Linked DNA regions of Homo sapiens: region 2 is linked to region 1. Evidence: promoter capture Hi-C in 16 types of primary human blood cells and fetal thymus (Javierre and others, 2016). All regions are on one chromosome and are shown on one strand. Each heading gives the region's core, a stretch centred on a gene start or on the middle of the fragment in contact. The rest is flanking DNA. Distances are from core to core; before and after follow the strand shown.

Region 1 (4,619 bases), core at 2,000-4,499:
AGAGCCATCACAGGATTTTAAGCCAGGGAATAGCCTAATAGGGTCTACGTTTTTATGCAGTCAAGAAAAATGTGTTGAGTTGCACTGGTTTGCTGTTCCAGAGCCCTGGAGGTTAAAATCAGCTTTGCCTCTATTGAGTTGTGTGGTCCCTTTTTATTGGATCAGAACAAGGTTTTGCAGTATTGGAGACCATACTATAGTGGCACTTAAGTAGACTTTATTTGGCATTACTATTAAATTGGCCAGGTGCAGTGGATCACGCTTGTAATCCTAGCACTTTGGGAGGCTGAGGCAGGTGGATCACCTGAGGTCAGAAGTTCAAGACCAGGCTGGCCAACATGGTGAAACCCCGTCTCTACTAAAAATACAAAAATTAGCGAGGCATGGTGGTGCACACCTGTAATCCTAGCTACTCGGGAGGCTGAGGCAGGAGATTCACTTGAACCCAGGAGGCAGAGGTTGCAGTCAGCTGAGATTGCACTACTGCACTACAGCCTGGGTGACAGAGCGAGACTCCATCTCAAAAAAAAAAAAAAAAATTACGTCACATGATGTGAAAGACACTCTTTCTTTTTTTTTTTTGAGACAGAGTCTCACTCTGTCACCCAAGCTGGAGTACAGTGGAGCCATCTCAGCTCATTTCAACTTTCGCCTCTGGGGTTCAAACAATTCTCATGCCTCAGCCTCCCGAGTAGCTGGGGTTACAAGCGTGTGCCACAATGCCTGGCTTATTTTTTTGTATTTTTGGTAGAAACGTGGTTTTGCAGTTTGGCCAGGCTGGTCTCAAACTCCTGGCCTCAAGTGATCTGCCCGCCTGGACCTCCCAAAGTGCTGGGATTACAGGCATGTGCCACCACACCAGGCCTCAATTATCTTTTAATCCTAATTCAAGAAAAAAGCCTCAATTTGGGTTAGAGGATTTAAAACCTATCTTAATGCCTCTAATGCTTTCCAAGTTCCCCTCCTTTTAAATATTTTCACAGTTTGCATTGACAAATGAAAAATGAAAGGAATTTTCCATTTGAAGTATCATTGAAGAGTCTTTTTTTTTTTTTGGAGCTGGGGTAGCAGGGAGAAGAGTCTATTTTTAAATAAACTTAATTGCATAAAGCAAAATGAGTGTATCGTCTTAAGGAAAACTTGAGTTAGACATTCCTTAGGTCATAAGCTGGTGGCAGTTTGTCCAGGAAGCCCCGCCTCCTAATTTCCAGACATGTGTTCCTTACACAATCACTCTAAATATTTAAGCATGTCTTTTTAATTGTTTATTAGATTAACTTTCCCTCGGCAAAGAGAGATACTCCTCCCAACTACCATCCCTAGTATATTCTTGGCCCTGGAAAAGCCCTGCAATTAAAGACGCCAAGAACATACCTACGGTCAACAAAGTTGAGTCTGTTGCACAGAAGAGAGCAAACCACGGGGAACCGTGGGCATTTGAGTGACAGGGTGTTAGGAAGGGCTTGTTCCAGGATTTGGGTTTGTATCAGGTGACTGAGGGGAGGGTTAAGGATGTGGATTGGGTACTGTCAGAAAGCAGGGGCTTTCTACAATTAGGTATCTTAGATTTTTTTTTTTTTTTTTTTTGAGATGGAGTCTCGCTCTGTCGCCCAGGCTGGAGTGCAGTGGTGTGATCTCGACTCACTGTAAGCTCCGACTCTCGGGCTCATGCCATTCTCCTGCCTCAGCCTCCCGTGTAGCCCGCCAGCACGCCCGGCTAATTTTTTCTATTTTTAGTAGAGACGGGGTTTCACCGTGTTAGCCAGGATGGTCTTGATCTCCTGACCTTGTGATCCGCCCTCCTCGGCCTCCCAAAGTGCTGGGATTACAGGCGTGAGCCACCGCACCCGGCCCAGTATCTTACATTTTTATATAGGAGGCAGAAGTAACGGAGTGAGACTAATGCTGTATTTGTTAATAACAGTCACTGGTGTTAGTCAGAAGAAAGAAATATGTGGTCATTCTTGTAATTTGAAAAGTCTTCTTTGTTTTGTCTCACTACAACAGTCAGAGTGATTTTGGGATTTTGTGAAACCATGGCCTAGCTGTCAGGTCACTCCATGGTGAAACAGGGGCTGCTTTTCTCTTTCTCTGCTCCAACTGCAGCAAGCTATTTGCTGGACTCTTATCCCTAATACAAATTCTCTTTCTTTGAATTTGTTCCCTTTGCTTGGATATCTCTTTCTCTAACTCCTTTAGTTGTCTGGCTTTCAAACAGTAGTTTAGGTGTCACCTACTACATGAGGCACCCCCTGGAGACCCACAAACTGCATTCCTCTCTCCTCCTCTGCACCTCCAGGGCACTTAAACATCAGATTCCCTATCAACTGGCTGAACTACCACACTGTAGACTTTCAAAAGTTTGCCATTTTTTTTATTTTCTTTTTATTCTTTTCCCCCAGAAGTCCCAAAAACAGATGATTATTTTCTTTTCACTCAAACAGATTCTGACAGAAGATTATTATTTTTTAAAGTGAACCAGGTCTCTTACTGACACTAGACAAGTTTCTTCCTGTCTCTAGCTCTACATATTTCCCTAGGTAAAATGAAGAATTTGTTGGAATCACGGAGCAGGGAGGTTGTTAGTAATGGAGACTCCCAAACCTAACCCAGATACATTAAATTGGATGTGGGTGGGAGAGGGGCTGGAGTGAACAGTTATATTTTCAAATGTTCTCAGAATGATCCCAATGTGCTGCCAGGGTTGAGTACCACCGAACAGAGCTTTCCTCTCAGATGATCCTGCTCTGTTGGTCTGTCAGACGCAGTGGTGTGGCTTCCTCGTCCCCTCTACAAAAGCGCACAGGCTTGGCCAGATGACGGATCTAAGCCGGCCTCCAAGACTACTCACCCGCATCAGGTGCAGCTCCCGGAATTTGCGCAGTCTCTGTTCGCGCTTCTGAGCGGCCAGCTCCGCCGCCGCAGCGAGGGACCCCTCCTCCGCGCTGTCCACCAGCACCTGCGACAAGGAGAACTGGCTTCAGGCAGAGCCGGCTCAGCTTCTCCCAGGACTGCCCAGGCCGAGTCCCCGCCGGTCCCCACAGGCTGGGCCTAGGGCCTCCACCGCCGACTTGACCCCACAGTGTCTGAGCCTCCCTGAAGCGAAACTAGACTTCGCCTCCACCTCTCTCCAGGCCGCTCCCCGGAACCCTCACCAACAAAACCCCCGGTGTACGGTGGGTGGAACTCACCTCGGATGCAGCTATAGCCGCCATCACAACCTTTCTCTCTTCCCACTTCCGGCAACAAGATAGAGCACTTCCGTCAACCTTCAGACAAACGGGCCGATACGTACGAATGGGCTACCATAAGCCCCGCCCCTTCCGGGAGGTCTCCGGAAGTTGGGACCCTTTTAGCTATGAAATATTTTGGATTGCGTAGGGTCTTGCGCAGCCGCGAAAAGTAGCGTGGGCCAGGACAGCGGGAGGTAAGTCGCCAAGAAAAGGGTTGGGAAGAGCTCAGAATCGGACGGCTAGGAAGAAATGACCAAAAGGAGCCTGATAGCCCCCTATTCTGCACGCTGTTCCTGGAAACCGCCTTTGCAAAGACAGTGAGAGAAATCTAACATGGCTCACTCCATCTTGCTTCTAGCCTCGCAGGCCGGCTGTCTTCGCTCATTCCTGGGCATAAACCAAGCTAACCATGGGAGAATTTATAGTTTAACTTTTAAGCAAGGATGATCATAGTCCCTTCCTTAAACAGGGCCCCTCCTTGTTTGGGGGCTGAAACTGCCTTTATAAAACTAATGAAAGACCGGGAGGTTAGGATTATGAGGGGAGAATTCTGCTAAAATGTAGTAAACGATAACCAGCCATTGTTTCGGAGGACATCGGATGTGTAACTTCCCCAATTATTCCTGTAGATAACGTTATCGTAGCACCTAAGATTGGTCTTTTGAGGCATTTTTCAGACTTTCGCATTCTGGCAACTAACTGACCCCACCCAGACTCGTGACCCATGACCCAACCGCTTCTTCTGTCCCACTCCTCCCCCAAGAGGCGGACTCAGCTGTTGAGGAGTGTAGTCCACACCCCTGTGATTGCATCTCCAACCAATCAGCAGCATCCATTCCCTAGTGCCCTGCCCACACCAAACTATGAAATACCCTAACCTCTGAGCTGACCCTTCAGGAAAACTTACTTGAGTGGTAACCCTTCTTCCCTGAGGCCAGCCTCAGGTTAATACAACTGTATACTGCAGTAGCACTTTTCAGTGAATTGGTTTTGTCTGCAGTAAGCAGGAAAAACCTGCAGTGCCATTCATTCCCATGAGTGGAAAGTTCTTTCCATTTAGAGCTTAAGGTGTTGTCACTTTCTCCAAGAAGCAGGTCTTGCCCTTGGCCTGGTGTGGTGGTTCATGGCTGCAATCCCAGCACATTGCGGGGCGGAGGCGGGAGGATTGCTTGAGCCCAGGAGTTCAAGACCAGCCTGGACAACAAAGTAAGAATCAGTCTCTAAATTAAAAAATAAAAGTAATTTTTTTTTGTTTTTTTGTTTTGAGACAGAGTCTTGCACTATCACCCAGGCTGGAGTGCAGTGGCACCGATCTCGGCTTACTGCAACGTCCGGCTCCCGGGTTCAGACGATTCTCCTGCCTCAGCTTCCCGAGTAGCTGGGATT
Region 2 (4,728 bases), core at 983-3,482, 380 kb before region 1:
AAAAATCTAAGACTTAAGGAGGAAATGGAAGTTGAAAAAAATTCAATTCAAAAGAAAGGACAAGGGGATCAAATGAACAAAACATAGGACAAATTGGAAAAATAGCAAAAGGTTAACTGTAAATCCAACACTGTTAGTAAATTTATGAAATGTAAATGGGCTGAACAATGTTAAGTGTCAAACTGGATAAAAAATCAAAACCCAATATATGCTATTTACAAGAGACAAATATATGGGCCCAGAAGGGTGAAATTAAAGAATGGAATAGTTAATTCATTGACACAGTAAATAAAAAGAAAGAAGATGTGCCTATCATACAAAGTAGGTTTTGAGGCAAGAAGTGTTACTGGAGATGAAAAAGGATGTTTTACAATATAGGACATTGATAATCATGAACATTCACTATGAAAATGTTAACAGTCCTGCATTTCTGTGTATCTAATAACACCTTTAAATAAAAATTGACTCAAAGAGAAATGTCTGCAATTATGAGGTCAAATTCATCCTCATAATTGGAGATTCTTAACATAGCTCTCAGTAACTGATAGAACAAGGAGGAAAACACGTGCGTGTGCACATACGTACACACATAGGAATAGCAGAAGAGAGAATAACACAACCACTTGACCTAATGGATGCATATGGCATGCTATATCCAACAACTGCAGAATGTACATTCTTTTCAGGTATATGTGGAACTTTTAGTGAAACAGACCCTATGCCGAGCCATAAAACAAGCCTCAACAAATTTCAAAGGAATGAAATACAAAATACGTTTTCTGACCACAGTGGAATTAAACTAGAAGTCAATAGTTGAAAGATACCAAGAAAATCCCCAGAATAAGGAACTACTTACAGTAGCCTACAACCCATGATGAATTTTTTTTTTTTTTTGACAGAGTCTCACTCTACTGCCCAAGCTGGAGTGCAGTGGCATGATCTTGGCTCACTGCAGCCTCTGCCTCCCAGGTCCAAGTGATTTTCCTGCCTCAGCCTCCTTAGTTGCTGGGATTACAGGCGCCCTCCACCATGCCCGGCTAATTTTTGTATTTTTACAAATACAAAAATTGTAACCTGTTGGCCAGGTTGGTCTCGAACTCCTGACCTCAAGTGATCCACCTGCCTTGGCCTCCCACAGTGCTGGGATTACAGGCGTGAGCCACCACATCCTGCCTGAAAATCTAAAGTTTTAAATTTAACACACATATTTATTATACACCAGGAACTGTTCTAAACACTTTACGTATATTAACTTAGTCTCTTTAACAATCCTATGAGATAGAGACTATTATTCCCATTTTATGGGTGAGGAAACTGAGGCATGTGGAGGTTAAGAAACTTGCTCAAGAGCCTGGGAAACATAGCAGGACCCTGTCTCTACAAAAAAAAAAAAATTAAGGTTGTGAGAGCCTCTGGTCCTAGCTACATGGGTGGCTGGGGCAGGAGGATCGCTTGAGCCCAGGAGTTCGAGGTTGCAGTGAACTATGATTGTGCCATTGCACTCCAGCCTGGGCAACAGAGCAAGATCCTGTCTCTAAATAAGAAAAGAAACTTGCTCAAAATCCCACAGCTAGTAAATGACAGTCAAAGCTAGGCAATATAGCAATATGCAGATAGTGCTCAGCAATCTTTAAAAGTGTGTCTGTTTTCCTCCTTAAAAGAGTGGACTTGGCTCCCTGGCCCCTGACAACTAAGGTAGTTGGTTGCCAGGTAAGCAGAGGTCCAGCTGGAACATATAGATTCTTTAAAAAAATAAATAAATAAAAATAGAGACAGGATTCTAGCTCTGTTGCCCAGGCTGGTGTCAAGCCCCTGGCCTCAAGCAATCCTCCTGTCGTAGCCTCCGAAACTGTTGGGATTTCAGGCGTGAGCCACCGCGCCCGGCCAAGAGCACGTTTGGTTGGTTTGTCCTGAGGGGCAGGTCTCTCGCACCAAGCAGGAGGTAGAGGTCTCGGGCCCAGAGGGGCCCTGCATCCCCCACCTCCTGCTGCGAGAGGCATCAGCCGGCCTTGTCCCTAAAGCCCCTGCTCGCTTTCCTGTCACCACTCGGGTGCGGTTCCGAAGTGGCCAGCAGGGGCCGCGGTTCCCCTCCTTTCGGCGCCACTTCTGCAAGCAGGGCTGGGACAGCTGCAGGACCTCGTCAGTTTGGGGAGCTGCCAGACCCGATCAGCAGCGTTGTCGGCTTCCTTCCTCTTTATCAGATCTGTCAGGGCTGCTGCGCGCTGCGAAGGCGCCTCCGGCCTCCTTCCCTCCTTCCTGTGTCGAACGGACGCTCCCCGGCGCCGCTGCGAACCGACACCTCCGCGCCTCCCCCGGCGGGGCAGGGCAGGGACCCGCTCACACCCTAGGTGGGGTGGGGTGGGAAGTGCCAGCGGTCTGGGTGTGACGGAGCCAGCCAATGTCCACGCGAGGTCAGGTCGCACGTGGGCCTCGACGCTGGCACTTCTGCATGTCCCTGGTTCTCGGCCGGCCACCGGCAGCTAGAGGAAGCGCTTCGCCCGCGAACCACAGGGCTGGGCGGCGGTTGGGTCGCGGCAGGGCGAGGGCTCCGCTGCGGTTGGCCCCGAGCGGCGTCCTTCCCCCGGGGGCCCCCGATCACTGCCTGGGGACTCGAGAGCGTCCCCGCCGCCGCGCCAGGCGCCAGTTCCCTGCTTCTGAGAGCGCGCACGGGAGCCCGAGCGAGCCCTCCTGGACGCCCGGCACAGGCCGGAGCGCCGACCGCGGGAGGGGCCACCTGGGCACTAGGAAAAGGGGCCACGGTTCCAGGCGGGGCGGTCCCCGCTCTGCTGACTCGGACGGGCCTCACTTCCCCGCCAGAAGAAGCGGCACCCATCCACGGGGAGGGACGGCCTCGGGACATCCTTTGGGGAAGCCAGTGACACATTTCTGATCCAATTTCTTATAAGAAATAGATAAACCTCAGTTTCTTCCTGTGCTTCCTTTCTCTAATTTCCTCAGTCAGATAATAATTGTCATTAAACTCGATGTACCAGTTATTGTGCTAAAGTTTTTAAAATGTTTCAAGTCTCTTCATATTCTCAAGTCTATTAGAGGAGGGACTATTCTTGTCCCCATTGTTTTATATAAAGAAACTTAAACCTAGAGAGGTTAAATAATTTGCCCAAGATCACACCAGGAACTGATAGAGGTCATCTGGCTCCAGAGCTTAACATCGCACTGGGTTGGTTGCTGTCACCTCCCCTGTGCAGGGTTTAAGGAGACTCGAGGAGGCTGATTTTTTTTCCTCTTCTCCTCTTCTCTCTTCTCTTCTCCCCTCTTCCCCCCTCTTTTCCCCTCCCCCCTCCCTCCCTCCTTCCCTCCTTTCTCTCTCTCTTTCTCTTTTATTTTTTATTTTCTTTTCATAGGCTTTCACTCCCATTGCCCAGACTGGACTGCAGTGGTGCAATCTTGGCTCACTGTGACCTTCAGGGAAGCTGATTTCTTAGCCCAGCTGTGGAACTGTCCAGAGCTCCCCAGCTACCCAAGTGTATTCCTCCTCTCCGCCTCCTCCTCTTCTCCTCCTCCTCCTCCTCCTCCTCCTCCTCCTTCTCTCTCTCTCTCTTTAATTTTTTAAGAAACAGTGTCAAGCAATCCTCCTGCCTCAGCCTCCTGAGTAGCTGGCACTACAGGCACGTGCCACCCCAAGTGGCCTTTTCCAGCAGGAAGTTTAGGAGCCTAATGAGCGCAATGCAAGCAGAACCAAATGGTTCCAATACCACGCACCAAGTGCATTGGCACCACATTTCTGGGTAAAAGGGTCCTGCTTGGCAGGGGGGACTTTGAGGGGTCAGGGAGGGCAAAAGGGGCCTCTCCCCTTCCTTGGCTCAGAGATGTTCACGCAACTCCCTGCCGTCTGCAGAGGTCACTGTAAGCCAGCAGACTCATTCTCACGTGGCTGAATGGAGGTTTTCCAATCAAGGAAGGGGCAAGAGAAGAAAAGCCCAGGGCCCTCTCCATTCCCTTCCTTCGTAGACATGCTTTTAAAAAATGATTTAAAGGCTGGACACGGAGGCTCATGACTGTAGTCTCAGCTGCTTGGGAGGCTGAAGTGGGAGGATCGCTTGAGCTCAAGAGGTCAAGGCTGGAGTGAACTAGGTTCACTGTGCTTCAGCCTGGACCACAGAGTGAGACTCTGTCTCCAAAAAAAAAAAGAAAGAAAGAAAAAAGATTTAATCTCATCTCTTAAATAATTTACTGCGGAATTGCTGCTAATCTTTACAGATCCTCCAAGAATTCTATGGTTTATGCCAGCATCATGAGTTTGCCCCTTACTATTTATTGATTTTTGGTCAGAAAATGTAAATAAATTTAAAAAATGTACATAAAGTGAAGCCCAAATCACTGGTGCACAGTATTGATTTGATTATCAATAGAGATTTTTTGTTGTTCAATCTGCAGTGTTCTAAAGTTACCTTTCAACTTGAAATTCTAAGCCAGCTTGCATTATCAGATTTTTTAGAAACCTTGATGACATCAAGCTGGAAATATTCCAGGACCCTCGTCTCATTGAAGAAAGAGCTAAGGATGAGTGACTCACCCAAGGCTCTGTTGGTTGCAGAATGGGGGCTCCTTGGACCAGACAGTGTGTTTAGCAAAAACATATGATGGCAACCAGGCTGGGACAGAGTTGCTACTAGAATGACATCTTTATCCCCTCGTCGGCTTTCAGGGAGTTCTCTGACTTCCTAAGGAATGGGCTTAACAAATAATCCTTGGCAACCAGAATGT

The links. The method cuts DNA at HindIII sites, captures the fragments that hold promoters and counts their contacts. A CHiCAGO score of 5 or more calls a contact.
Region 2: a fragment that was not itself captured here is called in contact with the fragment with the promoter of SYF2 in region 1 in 1 of 17 cell types (monocytes); the score reaches 5.1 in monocytes.

Annotation. Positions count from the first base shown.
Region 1 is chr1:25,229,253-25,233,871 of GRCh38, forward strand. SYF2 (SYF2 pre-mRNA splicing factor) reads right to left here and starts at 3,250. Exons shown (of 7, transcript NM_015484.5): 1 at 3,192-3,250; 2 at 2,852-2,959. The coding sequence starts at 3,215. It overlaps LOC124903881 (a long non-coding RNA gene), which reads left to right and starts at 3,337. Exons shown (of 2, transcript XR_007065555.1): 1 at 3,337-3,427. RefSeq lists enhancers at 3,068-3,217, 3,360-4,273, 3,458-3,707. The HindIII fragment of the contact is 32,676 bases long and covers 1-4,619 here.
Region 2 is chr1:24,846,023-24,850,750 of GRCh38, forward strand. No RefSeq gene overlaps it. Among named protein-coding and RNA genes, the nearest start is that of MIR6731, 71 kb to the right of the region's middle. RefSeq lists an enhancer at 1,427-2,151 and silencers at 2,266-2,465, 2,556-2,775. The HindIII fragment of the contact is 8,180 bases long and covers 1-4,728 here.